Regions from separate parts of the Homo sapiens genome. Here all the other regions are linked to region 2. Evidence: promoter capture Hi-C in 16 types of primary human blood cells and fetal thymus (Javierre and others, 2016). All regions are on one chromosome and are shown on one strand. The core of a region is centred on a gene start or on the middle of the fragment in contact, and the rest is flanking DNA. Distances in the headings are between cores, read along the strand shown. Region 1 has its middle 58 kb from the start of TRAM1L1. Region 2 holds the start of NDST3 (N-deacetylase and N-sulfotransferase 3). Region 3 has its middle 36 kb from the start of TRAM1L1.

Region 1 (4,498 bases), core at 1,067-3,566, 890 kb after region 2:
ATTTTTCCTGCTAGACATACCATAGTCTGGATATCTTATAAGCACCAGAAATTTACTTCTCACAGTTCTGGATGCTGGGAAGTCCACGATCAAGATGTCTCCAAATTTGGTGTCTGGTGAGGGCCTGCCTTCTTATTCATAGGCAGAAACTTCTCTCTCTCTCCTCACATGGCAAAAAGGGGCATGGGGTCTCTCTTCGGACTCTTTTGTCAGGATAGTAATACCATTCAGGAGGGCTCCACCCTCATGACCTTATCAACTCCCAAAGGCCCCACCTCCTAACACCATCACCTTGGGGATGAGAATTTCAATTTATGAATTTTGGGGGGAACACAAATATTGAGACCATAGCAGCTCTCAACAAAGACTGTTATATTTTAACTGTGTTAAAAATACAATATTAATTGTTTTTGAAAACTAAAAGGCAATCAAGAATGGTAGAGAATAAGTAGAAAATTGTAGAGAATGGTAGTAAAACAATAGATAATGATATAAATTGAAAAGTAAAAATCTCATAATATCCTGCCACCACAGCCTATACACACCCATACATACAAACATTAAATCATATCTACCAGTGGCCACTACTGTTTACAGTTTGGATTGGGTTAGATCTCACCAGATCTTTTCGCCTTCCTTTTTTCCTTCATTCCTTCCTTTCAGTTATATAAAGATATGCCTATGTTTTTAGGTACACATAAACTTATTCAATATACATATACATAAAATTGACATTATACTTTATACACTGACATAGTATGTATATTTTTATCCAAATCAGCTCATATTGCACTTGTTTTTCTACAAAATATTTTTGCATCTAACAATATAGTAAAGGCAAGATTGCATATCAATACATAAAGATATTGCTCATTTTTTCATATTCATTTGCTTATTCATCAAAAATGGTTATTGAACATCAGTGTATTTTATTCTGTTTGTAAGGTACTGGAGATACGGCAGTGAACAAAACAGAAAATGAACACAGTGATTGAAAGTTTGTTATTTTATAAAAAGAAATAGAGAAATCCTAATGGTGCTTTTAGAGAAAAAGAAAACTGAGGGCGTGAAAATGTGGATATCAGGGAGAAGAACTCGTGGTGGAGGGACACATGATCAAAACCCAAGGATCAGGAGAGCTGAGGCACAACAGGCATGGGGGAGACTAGTACAAGGTAAGAACAGAGAGATAGAGATGTCTCCAAATTTGGTGTCTGGTGAGGGCCTGCTTTCTGATTCATAGACAGAAGCTTCTCCCTGTGTGTCCTCACATGGCAAAACGGGCACAGGGTCTCTCTTGGACCTCTTTTGTAAGGATAGTAATTCCATTCGGGATTTCAGCCTTTTTGAGTTATAGATCATTTCAGCCATTTTGATTCATAGTAAGGGTGTTGGATGTTATGCTGAGTGACATGAAATACCACTGGAAGATTTCAGCAGAGTGAAGCTCTGATATGGATGCTATTTTGACAATAGACCCCAGGAATGCAAGATTAGAAATAAGAAGATAAGGTTATAGGAGCTTTTGGAATAACAAGAAAAGTTGTGATAATAAATTGGACTAGAGTAAAAGCGTTGGATATAATAAAAATTGTTCAGTTATTGAGGGATGTCAAAATTGACAGCTGACAGGATTTGTGGAGATCTTGAATGTGGGTTCTGAGAGAAAAATAAGAGTAAAATATCAAACTTTTTTAATGGATGTTAATTCTATTCAACTCATCTTTAGCCTAAATTGATAAATAGCCATATTTTTGTTTATTTTTATTATGATGACAAATTTTATTGAGAAATATTAATATTGAATAATAGTTACAGTTCTCAAATATGGAGAAGGGAGATTGGTCTGTACTGTAGTTTTCTGTGACAGAGAAATAGCATTGCAGTTCTGTGGTCATTAGTTTGATGGAGACCTAAAATGTATTTCAAAGACCTTTTATTGTTCTTATTCTCTGTGATCTGACATTTGAAATAGCATTGGAGTGATGAGTTACTTACAGTTTTGGTGGAAGTTAAAAATGAAATTGAAGAATTTATACTTTCTATGAAAGGGAACTTTTGAAAGTTTTGTTTCTATTTCTCCTATAAGAAAAATTCATTTAAGTCTATTGCTTCTTTGTTTAATTGTCTCTGTATATATTTTCTAGAAAACCTCCTTTATAAATATATTCATATAAAACTATGCAAAGTTATGTTTTAAAATTTGTTTTAAAACTTTCACTGAATATTATTTCTCCAATATTAGTTCACTGGTATATACATGTTTCTCTTTTTCTTATTAAATGAGCTAATATTATAGCTATATGTTAGAACATTCAAAGACCAAATTCTTGAGCTTATTTTGTTGTTACCATTTTTCTGTTTTCATATCCTATCCATTGTTTTCTAACTTAGTGATTTATCTCTCTTGTTTTTCTTAGATTTATTGTGTTTTTCATTCTAAACTTTCTTTGACCTTAGATTATATAACTCCACTGTTTTGAAGTATCTGTCATTGCAGTAGAGAATTCTTATTCCTGATGTTCTTCCCTCTTTATGTACAAATGCTAAAAATATCAGAATGGCACAGGCACCAATTAATCAGAAAAGGCACTTGTACAATCAAAATGAGGTTTCCTGGTGTGTGGTAGTGGATTATGAGCACTGTTTATGGCTGCTTTGGATAACTTGAAGTCCAAGAAATTTTGTGAAGACTTGTCTCAAGGTTATAAAATCCATATATTTTACACTATAAGATGAACTCTTTCAACATATTGATTAACATCAAAAGCTGTTTGAATATTTTACAGAAACATTTGTTTTATTTCTTCTTAACTTGGATTAATTAGAAATGTACATTCATCTTTATTTGTCCTCCGTATTTATTATTTTTCAATGTTTTATCACAATTTGATAATTTATTTTAATTTTTTATGACTTACTATGTTTTTAGCAAAACTCATTATATGTGTGTATATATATGTGTGTGTATATATGTGTGTATGTATGTGTATACATATACAAACATATATATACATATGTGTGTATACATACTATATTAATACACACGTACACACATATATGTATATATACATATATAAACTACACACACATATACACACATATATCTGTGTATATATACACATATATATAAGTTAAACTATATGTTTACTATTGCTAGAAATGTTGCTATTTCTTTATTGGTTTTATTTTATTTTTAATTTATTTTCTGATTTTCTTCACCTAAGAGTCTGCTTCATCTGTTAGCCTATTATATCTTCCCTGAGCTCTTATATCTGTGCTTTGAATTTGGTAATATTTGAATAAAATCTTCAATTTCAAAGCTGTATATTTTAATTTTGGCTTGCAATTTATTTAGTATTGTATTTTATGCAAAGCTTTCTTCACCATCAATTTGATTGTATTGTTTCTTTTTTCTTTCTAAATCATGCTTTATAATTTACATGATTATGGAATGGTTCTTTTTGGTTTATTGATACTTTTTTGAATTTGCAATTGAGACATCCTAATTGCACATATTTATGAGGTATCGTGAAGTTTTGACACATGTATACATTGTATAATAATAAAATAAGGGTAATTACCATATCCATCACCTGAAACATTTATCATTTCTCTTAACAAGAACATTCAAAAACCTCTCCTAGGTATTTTGAAATATGCAATACATTATTGTTAACTCTATTCTATTGTGAAATAGAACACCATGACTTATTCCTCCCATCTAACCATAGCTTTGTACCTATTGACCAATCTTTCTCCTCCTCCACCCACCCTCCTTACCCTCTGGTAATCATTACTTTACTCTCTACTTCTATGAGAACAACTTTTTAGATTGCATATATGAGTGAGATCATGTGGTATTTGTCTTTCTGTGCCTAGCTTATTTCGCTTAGCATAATGTCCTCCGAGTTTGTGCATATTGCCACAAATGACAGGATTTTAGAATTTCTTGTGGCTGAATAGTAGTCTATTGTGTATATGTGTAGACATACACCACATCACATTTTCTTTATCCACTTATCGGTTGATGAACAAGTTGATTGCAGATCTTGGTTATTGTGAATAGTGCTGCAGTAAACATGAATACAAATACCCTCTTGACACACTGATTTCATTTCCTTTGGACATATACTCAGTAGTTAAATTGCTGGGAACATACAGTAGTTCTATTTTTAATCTTTTGTGGAAACTCCTCGCTATTTTCCAGAATGACTGTACTAATTTACAGTCCAACCATTGCTGTGTAATGACTCCCTTTTCTCCACACCCTTGCCAACACTTGCTATCTTTTGATTTTTCATGATAGCCATTCTAACAGGAGTAAGGTTACACTCTTTTATAGTTTTGACTTGCATTTCCTTTATAATTAATGATGTTGAGAATTTTTCAAGCATCATTTGGCTACAATTTTATACTTTTGAGAAATGTCTATTCAGATATTTTGTTCATATTTTCCATATTTTATTAGGGTTATTTGTTTTCTTGTTGTAGAGTT
Region 2 (4,997 bases), core at 1,471-3,970:
TTCTCATCTATCTTCGTCCTGGCCTCCAGATCAATTTCTAAAATGTTGAACAAACAGGATAAAAAAGGGTCTCTGGAATCCTCATTTTTCAGGTGAAGAAACCAAGCCCCAGAGCCAGCAAGGGAGCTGTTCAAGGCCACTCCTGTCTTGGCAGAGCCAGTCCTAGAATTTAGGTCTACTTTCATGTTATTTTCAAATATTTTAATGAAAAAAAAAATTCAGCAATGAAACACATGTAAAATGGATACCCATAATTGAGATGCTTAAAGGTTTTAGGATAGGACTGCAATAATTGATTTTTAAGCTCTTATTTGGCAACAGGTAATCAAGAATTATAGCCCTCAGTAATTTGTAGAAGATTTGGGGAAATAATTTCTTATAGACATTAATTAATTGTAGTAGGTCCTGACTACTTTTTTTTTCTTGTCCTGTAACTTACATGAAATCGATGAAAATGTTTAGAGTAACATGAAAGAATAAATCACTCACTGTGATATCCAGGTATCTAAGAGTATAGTTTTTTACTATAAACAAACAGACAAACCAAGAAATATTAAAATCACCCCTTTACGAGAAACTTCAGTCATGAAATAGTTTTGAGGATTGTTCAGACTAATTATCTTTATAATGTAGGTCGTTACTTTTGTGGCCTGGCAGCATTCCTAATCTGGACAGGTGTTCAGAGTTCATGCATTTCAGTGTGAATGCTCATTTATAATAGACACAGCACAGGGAAAGTAAACTTCTACTGTTTTCCCTTACTGTCAGAACTGTTAAGCAATTAGAAATTCAAGGCATTCATTTAGTTGAGAATAGTGTTTTTATCCTTAATTCAATTTCCCTGATTTTATAGTGTATATAAATCACAAAGTATTTACATATAGTTTAAAAAAATATATTTTGCATCTTAACAAATGCACTTTTAAGGCTCTAATCACCAAAAAGCAGCTGAAACTCAATCAGGTTTCAAGGAAGTCATATAATCAGAGTCCCAAGATTAAAAGAAAAAAAATTGTAATTTCTTTACAGTTTTAAAATTTTGAAATGACAGGTAGACAATTACATATTTACATTTTAGCTTATAATAACTTCTTTAGCAGAATATATGGTTTAGAAAAAGAATCTCCAATGCCTGATTATCTCTTCTACTATATATTTTTTAACAAACTTTTCAGTTACACCAAAAATTAATATTTGCCTCAATGTTCAGAAATAATGCTTTTCTCAAGAAAATTAATTTAAAAAGAGGGTATATATAACTCCACCAAACTAAACTATAACAAATATCTCCAGAAAGAGATAAAAGTTTTATTTTATCTAAAACATTTTAGTAATGTAAGAATTCTTCATTTTAAAGACTATGAAGAAAATTAACTCATGTGACAAGCTCAAAATTAACATTATTTACACAAAGAAACAAATCTTCTGTTTTACCATCAAGATGATAAAGAAAAATGATAACAAAATTAGAAATGGTAGATACTGTGTTAACCAGAGAAAGAAAAAAAAGAGCTTATCTTAGGCAAGCCTCTTTATATGTTCAGTACTATTTTAAAAAGGAGCCTCCTTCAAACTTATATTTGAAATCTCCATCTTAAATATAATATTGATAGGAAGGTATGGATGAAGAAAAAGGGAAAAAAATTCCCTTCAGCTGAATATCGGATATTCTAGAGTTTCTCTGCCATATCATCCTGCTCTCTGGTGGTGAACAGCATTGCTCAGTAGTTGATAACATGAAATTTTCTAAGGGCAAAAAAAAAAAACAAAAAAAAAGTGTGTGTCCCAGATCAGTTGCACACATCTCAATATTTGATTTGTATTTTAATTTAATACAAATGTATTAAGAATGTAGCTGTTTGCATTGTCTAGAAGGGTTTTCTTCTAAACTCTTCCAGATTACATGTTGCTATATTTCAATATGTTTATAAAGAATATAGATACTAATACATTTTCGACATTAAATAACTCTGATGCTTAAACAGTATCCAGCTATTAGAAAAACTATTTGAAAAAGGATCTGAGTAAACCCCTTAAAGATGTAACTTTGCTTTTACCTGCCCCCACAAAATGGATATATTAAATAGAAGATATATCTGTTTTCTTTAAATTTAAAGTTTCTGTATTTGATACCTAGATTGATTCTTTCCATTTCCATTTAATTTTATTAATTGTATAGTTTTAAATAATGTCTATAAACTGCATCAAATAGAAAGCCTTTTGAGGATCATTACTGTGTAGATAGGCAGGTAGTTTAAAGTCTCTGATATTCCTTACAAAATTCTGTCAAGGCAACAGACATGTGTTCTGTTAAACAGATCTACTTCAGAATCATTATAAGTTGGTGAATATCTTAAACAATTACAAGAGGTCATTTCTTTAGTACCATAATCTTATGAAAGGGAAGCTTTAAAATCATCCCTGAATGAGACGGTCCTTTGTTTCACTTAATTTAATCAAAATACTCTATATTTCTTCTTCAAGAATAAAATGAAGCACTTGTTCAATCTTGAAATTTTTAGATTATTTGAAAGCAAAGTTGTTATCTCTTAAAAGCCCCTACATTTATGAGTGAGGCATTAATGCACAGTATAAATAAATAAATACACTTACCTGGAATTAAAGTTCAGAGCTGAAAATGCTTGAGAAAGTTGCAATAGATGGAAAAGAAACGGAAACAGTACCACTCGTTACCATCGGCTCAGGCTTTTTGACTTTACAAGTGGTAGCAACACCAGTCCTGGCCCAGTACTCTCATGTTATGTAACATCTTATTAATATTAGCCATCAAACTGCTACCAAGCTGGTGAGGCACTAGAGGGCAAGAGTGTCACATGCAAGACCCGTCGCCAAGGGACCGGCTTTGGTACCACTTCGGGGGAAGACAGATGCTAACTAAGCTGATGAATAACAGGATGCCCGAATACAACAGCAAACTTGTAACGTTCCTCAAAGAATATTTTACATGTCAATTTTCTGACTAGCGGAAGAGTTAACAGGTTAATAAATATGAGCAAGCAAATAACCACACCATGAAAAACTTTTAGGATTATATTTACAAACCCACAGTCACTCAAGAGGCTGTTTGTTTTTTTCTTTCCATTGTCTAAATAAACTTATTTAAAACAGGAGAAAAAAGCTGGTTAAATAAAACGAGTGTCGGTTTCAGGACTCCCTCATTCCAAGCCGCGAGAAACTTGTCTGGTCGAGATGCCGCCTCTGGAGTCCGCATTCCAAGGCGCCCGGATCGGGTTTCTGGGCGAGGAGACCGGCCCCGTCCTCCATGGAGATTACCTGGGGCTGCAGCCGTCCGCGGGCTCCTCCTTCCCTCGGGTCTTCGGCCTCAGCCGCTCCCCAGGGCCCCTCGTCCGGGTGGCGCTTGGGTGCTACGCGGTGCCCGGGGTCCGGCGGGGGCGACAAGCGGGCGACCTCTCCCCTCCGCGCCCGGGATCTGCGCGGACACAGCTGGTGGCGACTTCGGCCGCTCAGGCTGCGGCTGCGGGGCGAGCGCAGCGGGTGCGCCGGGGACTCCTGCGCTGGAGAACCACGGCCCTGGGACCCGCCCGGCCGCGCCTCCGCCGCCCTCGCCACCGCCTCCCGGGCGGGAGCCGCCGCCTCCCAGCTCCCGGCCCGCGCGCGCCCGCCCCGGGGAAGGGGAGGGAGCGGGAGCTGAGGACGGGAGCCGCCTCCATCGACCGGGCTCCCGCCCGGACCGGCCCTGAGGATCTGGCTGCCCGGGCCTCGACAAGGAGACCCCGGGGGTTCCGCCCCGGCCTGCCAGTTCCGACCGCCCCTCCCGGCGGGTTGGCGGCGGCCGCCAAGGATGAAACGTCTTGTGCGGCCAGGGAAAGGGGTGCGAGTCCCCGAGGCGACGCTGGAAGGGTGGGGCGCACCCGCGCGGTCCCTTCCTGTGGTGCTCCTGCCGTTGGCACTGGACCAGGGCGGCTGCGAGGCTGCAAGAGTTTCCTCTGTTCGCCAGTTTTTTTCAAATGCCATGTGTTTCAGCTCCTGAAGACAAGTGGAAGGCCAGCAACTGAAGAGATATTTTGGATTCAAGGTGTGAGGTTACCCTCTCCAGAACTATAGTTTGATTAGAAGTGTGAATCGAATGATATATATTTTTAAAAATTTCATTTGGTTCCACTAACATGTGAATTGTATTAAGTGGGGTCTACTAATGATACTTTGTATTGGCCATTTGTGGTTTTGCTTCCCAGCACTCACTCTTGTTGAAACAGTACTCCTGTTCATTTTGGAAGATCCAACCACTTGATCTCACCCCGCAGCCCATTTGCTTTAGGTGATGTCAGCCGCTGCTGACTCACTGGTAGACCCACAGCTCAGGTCTGGCCAGTGATGGCTTTCTGTCCTGGTAGCATGGGTAGGTATGTAACCCAGGTCTGGCCAATCAGAGAGAAAAACAGAAAAAAACCACCATTCTGGGACTTTTTTTTTTCCTTCCTCTCTTAAGAAAGTGGACTCTCTTCTACTGGACTTTGCATAATGAAGATGTGAGCTTAGAGCTTGAAGTCTGAAAATAAAGCTGATACTCAGGAAGGCAGAACTGAGAGTTGGAGAAAAGTGAAACCCAGATGGAGATTTTCGAGCTTGGAATCGAGCTGTAGCTGAAATAAGTTCTATCTCTGGATATTTTCATTCATAAACAAATACATTCACTTTTTTTTTTGATTCGGAGTCGCGCTCTGTCGCCCAGGCTGGAGTGCAGTGGCGTGATCTCAGCTCACTGCAAGCTACGTCTCCCGGGTTCCCACCATTCTCCTGCCTCAGCCTCCCGAGTAGCTGGGACTATAGGAGCCCGCCACCAGGCCCGGATAATTTTTTGTATTTTGGTAGAGACGGGGTTTCACCGTGTAAGCCAGGATGGTCTCGATTTACTGACCTCGAGATCCGCCCACCTCGGCATCCCAAAGTGCTGGGATTACAGACTTGAGCCACCGCGACTGGCCACATTCACTTTTGTCTTAAGGCAGCTTGGA
Region 3 (4,632 bases), core at 677-3,176, 910 kb after region 2:
CTCAACCATAAGAGACAGGCCACACCCAGGTGGGCTGTTTATAAGCTGATACCTCCAGGCGCTTATTCTCTTTCTCAGGGATGTTCCATGCTGAGAAAAAGAATTCAGCGATACTTCTTCCATTTGCTTTTGAAAGAAGAGAAATATGGCTCTGTTCTGCCCGGCTCACTGGCGGTCAGAGTTTAAGGTTATCTCTCTTGTTTCCTAAACATTGCTGTTATCTTGTTCTTTTTTCAAGGTGCCCAGATTTCATATTGTTTAAACACACATGCTCTACAATTTGTGCAGTTAATGCAATTATCACATGGTCCTGAGGTGACATACATCCTCCTCGGCTGACAGGATTAAGAGATTAAAGTAAAGACAGGCATAGGAAATCACAAGGGTATTGATTGGGGAAGTGATAAGTGTCCATGAAATCTTTACAATTTATGTTTAGAGACTCAGTAAAGACAGTCATAAGAAATTACACAAGTATTAATTTGGGGAACTAATAAATGTCCATAAAATCTTCTCAATCCACGTTCTTCTGCCATGGCTTCAGCTGGTCCCTCTGTTTGGCATCCCTGACTTCTCACAACAGTTAGTTAATATTTTTATCTTCTTTCCATATTATAGGTTTACTATGACTTCTGATATAGCTAATTAGGAAAGGCCTACCAGAATTGCAGAAGAAAAATAAAACTTCTAAAATGTGGTCAGTAAAAAAAAAATAGGGCCGGGCACAGTGGCTCACTCCTGTAATCCCAGCACTTTGGGAGGCTGAAGCGAGCAGATCACGAGGTCAGGAGATAGAGACCATCCTGGCTAACACCGAAACCCCATCTCTACTAAAAAACTACAAAAAATTAGCCAGGTATGGTGGCAGGTGCCTGTAGTCCCAGCTACTTGGGAGGCTGAGGCAGGAGAATGGCGTGAACCTGGGAGGCGGAGCTTGCAGTGAGCCGAGATTGAGCCACTGCACTCCAGCCTGGGCAACAGCATGAGACTCTTTCTCAAAAAAAAAAAAAAAAAAAAAAAAAAAAAAAAAAAAAAAATTCCAGGAAGCCAAGATTCTATAAGTCAAAGATTTTTAAATGCATAAACACAGTGAATTACTCATAAATAACTTTAGAAAAAAGTTGAAATTACAAAACTAGGAAAAGCCTATTTAAGATAATAAAGATAAATCTCCCTGTTTCATCCAAAGTAAAATACACTTGCCTCTATAATTTAAATAATAATTTCAAGAAATACATTTTTAATATCTTATATATGGCTAAAATATTCACTGTAGGTAGGATATAGGCTACATCACTCCAAGTGTACAACAAATTAATGTTATATTTGTTTTTAATGGTACAGTTTGAGTATCCTTTACCTGAAATGCTTGAGACCAGAAGTGTTTTGTATTTCAGATTTTTTGGTTTTCAGAATATTTTCATGTACATAATGAGAATCTTAGAGGTGAGATCTAAGCCTAAATATAAAGCTCATTTATATTTCTTATGCATATAGCCTAGAGGTAATTTTATATAAAAGTTTTAGTAATTGTGTGCATGAAATAAAGCTTGTGTACATAGAACCATCAGAGAGCAAAGGTTTCACTATATTCACCACCCATGTAGACAATCTGTGGTTTTTTTAAGCATCAACATCATTCCTGACTTTGAACTTATGTGCTATTCATGAGTGATCATTTTCATATACTTATTTACAGATAAGTAATTAACAGTTAAAAAAAGGCATACAATTAATAAAGTGAAAATTTGTCTTCCGGGTAGCTAAGCAACACAGCAGCATCACCAGAATACTTAGATCAGCTGTTAACAGCAACAACAAACAAGCCAGGCTTTTAGTTCCTACGTATAATGCAGTGTTTTAATTTAAAAGGTTTATGTACGTTATATATTATTTTAATTTTTTAGGTGAGAAAAAACATCAGATGAAGTCGAGGGACCAGAAAGTGAGTCTTCTAGGCATGAGGATCCATGCTCCTGGATGGCTTTTTAAAATGTTTCTTCCAGAATCATCTGCCTCATTAATAACAGTTTTCCTTAGAAGTCTCTCTTTGATTTATAAATTGACATATTTTTGTTTTGATATGAATGCATGCAGCTCTATTTCTTAAGGAGCCCATTACACGTTTTGACGTCATTTATACTTTTACCGCAGTTTTAACATCATCGTCTTCATCATGGCTATTATCATGATCACCTTGATTCATAATCATTTTGACTATTTTTGATTAGTCAATGAATAAACCACTGGAGCTTAATTTCTAATGTTAAAATTTTTTTTGATATCCACATCTTCAAGCTTACTGATGGATTCTGAAGCTATATTTTTTGCATATATAAAAGGTCAGACATCATTTTTACTCTCACTTGATGTATGAAATCCTAAAAAGTCACTACCTTGTTCATAATTATCACTGAATTTAGTCACAGGTCAGAGGTTGAGCAAGACATGAACAATTGTGTTTTTAATCACTGTGTTCTAAGCATTGCCAACAGAATATATCACATTTGTCTTGTTAAAATCATTCCAAGGCCAGGAGTGGTGGCTTACACCTATAATCCCAGCACTTTGGGAGGCCAAGGTGGGCAGATCACAAGGTCAGGAGTTCCAGTCCAGCCTGGTCAATATGGTGATACCCAGTTTCAACTAAAAATACAAAAATTAGCTGGGTGTGGTGGTGGGCGTCTGTAGTCCCGGCTACTCGGGAGGCTGAGGCAGGAGAATTGCTTGAACCTGGGAGGCGGTGGTTGCAGTGAGCCAAGATCATGCCACGGCACTCCAGCCTGGGTGACAGAGCTAGACTCTGTCTCAAAAAAAAAAAAAATTTCAAAAACTTTCCACACCATGCCTCTGTTCACTGATGCTATCATGTTGTTCAAGAAAGTGTTTCCTTATTTAATCAATCTAATGATACCCTGGTCACATGGCTGAATTTGAAAGAAGGTGCATGGCATAAACATTATTTTTGATGAGAAGTAATAACAGAACCTTACAGTTATTTAATCTAACTTTCCTGCAGTAAGCACAAGACTGTTATCAAATGTTTGTGAAACTAATCAGACAAAATTTCTCTAGTGATCTTGCCTTTTTGTTAGCATAACAATGGACTGTCAAGAAACTTGGCTGGGCACCTTGGCTCATGCCTGTAATCCCAGCACTTTGGGAGGCCGAGGTGGGTAGGTCACTTGAGGTCAGGAGTTCAAGACCAGCCTGACCAACATGGTGAAACCCCATCACTACTAAGAATACAAAAATTAACTGGGCATGGTGCACACCTGTAATCCCAGCTACTTGGGAGGCTGAGGCAGGAGAATCGCTTGAACCTAGGAGGTGTAAAAAACAAAAAAAGAAACTTATTCTCTGAAAATTTTGAGGACCCAAGCTTTTGCCTATCACAGCACGTTTACCCTCATGCATGCCTGTTGCATTAGCACATCCCAGCATAGTTATTCTATTTTTGGCATTCTTCATTTCTGTTGGCTTTTTCTCATCAGCTGTAATCAGTATCTTTCTGAGACAATAACACCAAAAAAGTGGTGTTTCATCAGTTTTATTGACTTGTTCTAGTGTCAGATTTTCATCAGTGATGACCTTAGCAAACTCATCAATGAATTTCTCTGCTGCTTCAGGATCAGTAGATGTTTTATTATCCCAAATCTTTCAAAATTTAATGCCATGTTTTTTCTTACATTTCTTCAACCAGTCTGATGAATATTCAAATTTCTCTTCAATTAGATATTTGCTTGTTTTATAATCAGCTTACCATCAAGTGCTGGTGTCCACTGTGATGCTGACCAATTCATTCTTTCAATACACTCTCAAGATCTCCAGTTTTAGTTTTATGCAGTGTTTTTCTATTTTTCACTGACTTCTGTTCATCACTTTTAGCAAAGAAATTCAACAGTTTATCCTCTGTTTCTTCAGGTCATATATGATGGTCATTCCAACATTATACTTTTCTGTGAGATGTTTCATGCTTACACTACTGTTCAGTTTCTTCAACAGCTTGACTTTCCGTGATGTAGATAAACAAAAATGCTTCCTTTTTTTCTTTATCACTGTTACCCATAGGGATATCTGCAGCCCGTTTTGACATTTTCAACCATACCTTTATACCCCAGAGCAGAGAAACAGAAAAAACAAAACACAGTGAATAGTGCATGTAGGTCTTGGACACATGTGAGGCATTATGGAAAATGCACCAATGGTACATCCAGCCTGCACATGTATCATGTTATTATACTCTGTGGGCTCACACAGGGGAGTCTGGGTATGTGCAGAGAAGATATATTGCAAAAGAAGGGGGATGGGAAGCTGTTCTTTCTACTAGGGACACTGAATAAACGGTGTTGCATATGGTGTTGTTCAACTGCATTTTGATTGGAATTCATCATATGAGGTCAGGTGTGGAATTTTCCACTTGTATTTTCATGTCAGCACTCAAAAAGTTTTTGATTTTGGAAGACTTCAGATTTCGGATTTTCAGATTAAGAATGCTCAACCTGTATTAGAATAATTACTCAATTAAATCAGATTTGTTTAATTCCTAATTATTTTATACCATTCATATTTTTTCATTTAACTTTTTTTATTGATATATAATAGTTGCACATATTAATTGAATACATTTTT

The links. The method cuts DNA at HindIII sites, captures the fragments that hold promoters and counts their contacts. A CHiCAGO score of 5 or more calls a contact.
Region 1: a fragment that was not itself captured here is called in contact with the fragment with the promoter of NDST3 in region 2 in 1 of 17 cell types (megakaryocytes); the score reaches 5.4 in megakaryocytes.
Region 3: a fragment that was not itself captured here is called in contact with the fragment with the promoter of NDST3 in region 2 in 1 of 17 cell types (megakaryocytes); the score reaches 6.5 in megakaryocytes.

What each region holds. Positions count from the first base shown.
Region 1 is chr4:117,141,263-117,145,760 of GRCh38, reverse strand. No RefSeq gene overlaps it. Among named protein-coding and RNA genes, the nearest start is that of TRAM1L1, 58 kb to the right of the region's middle. The HindIII fragment of the contact is 2,127 bases long and covers 1,253-3,379 here.
Region 2 is chr4:118,032,209-118,037,205 of GRCh38, reverse strand. It overlaps NDST3 (N-deacetylase and N-sulfotransferase 3), which reads right to left and starts at 2,720. Exons shown (of 14, transcript NM_004784.3): 1 at 2,614-2,720. The HindIII fragment of the contact is 5,573 bases long and covers 2,410-4,997 here.
Region 3 is chr4:117,119,388-117,124,019 of GRCh38, reverse strand. No RefSeq gene overlaps it. Among named protein-coding and RNA genes, the nearest start is that of TRAM1L1, 36 kb to the right of the region's middle. RefSeq lists an enhancer at 1-176. The HindIII fragment of the contact is 749 bases long and covers 1,552-2,300 here.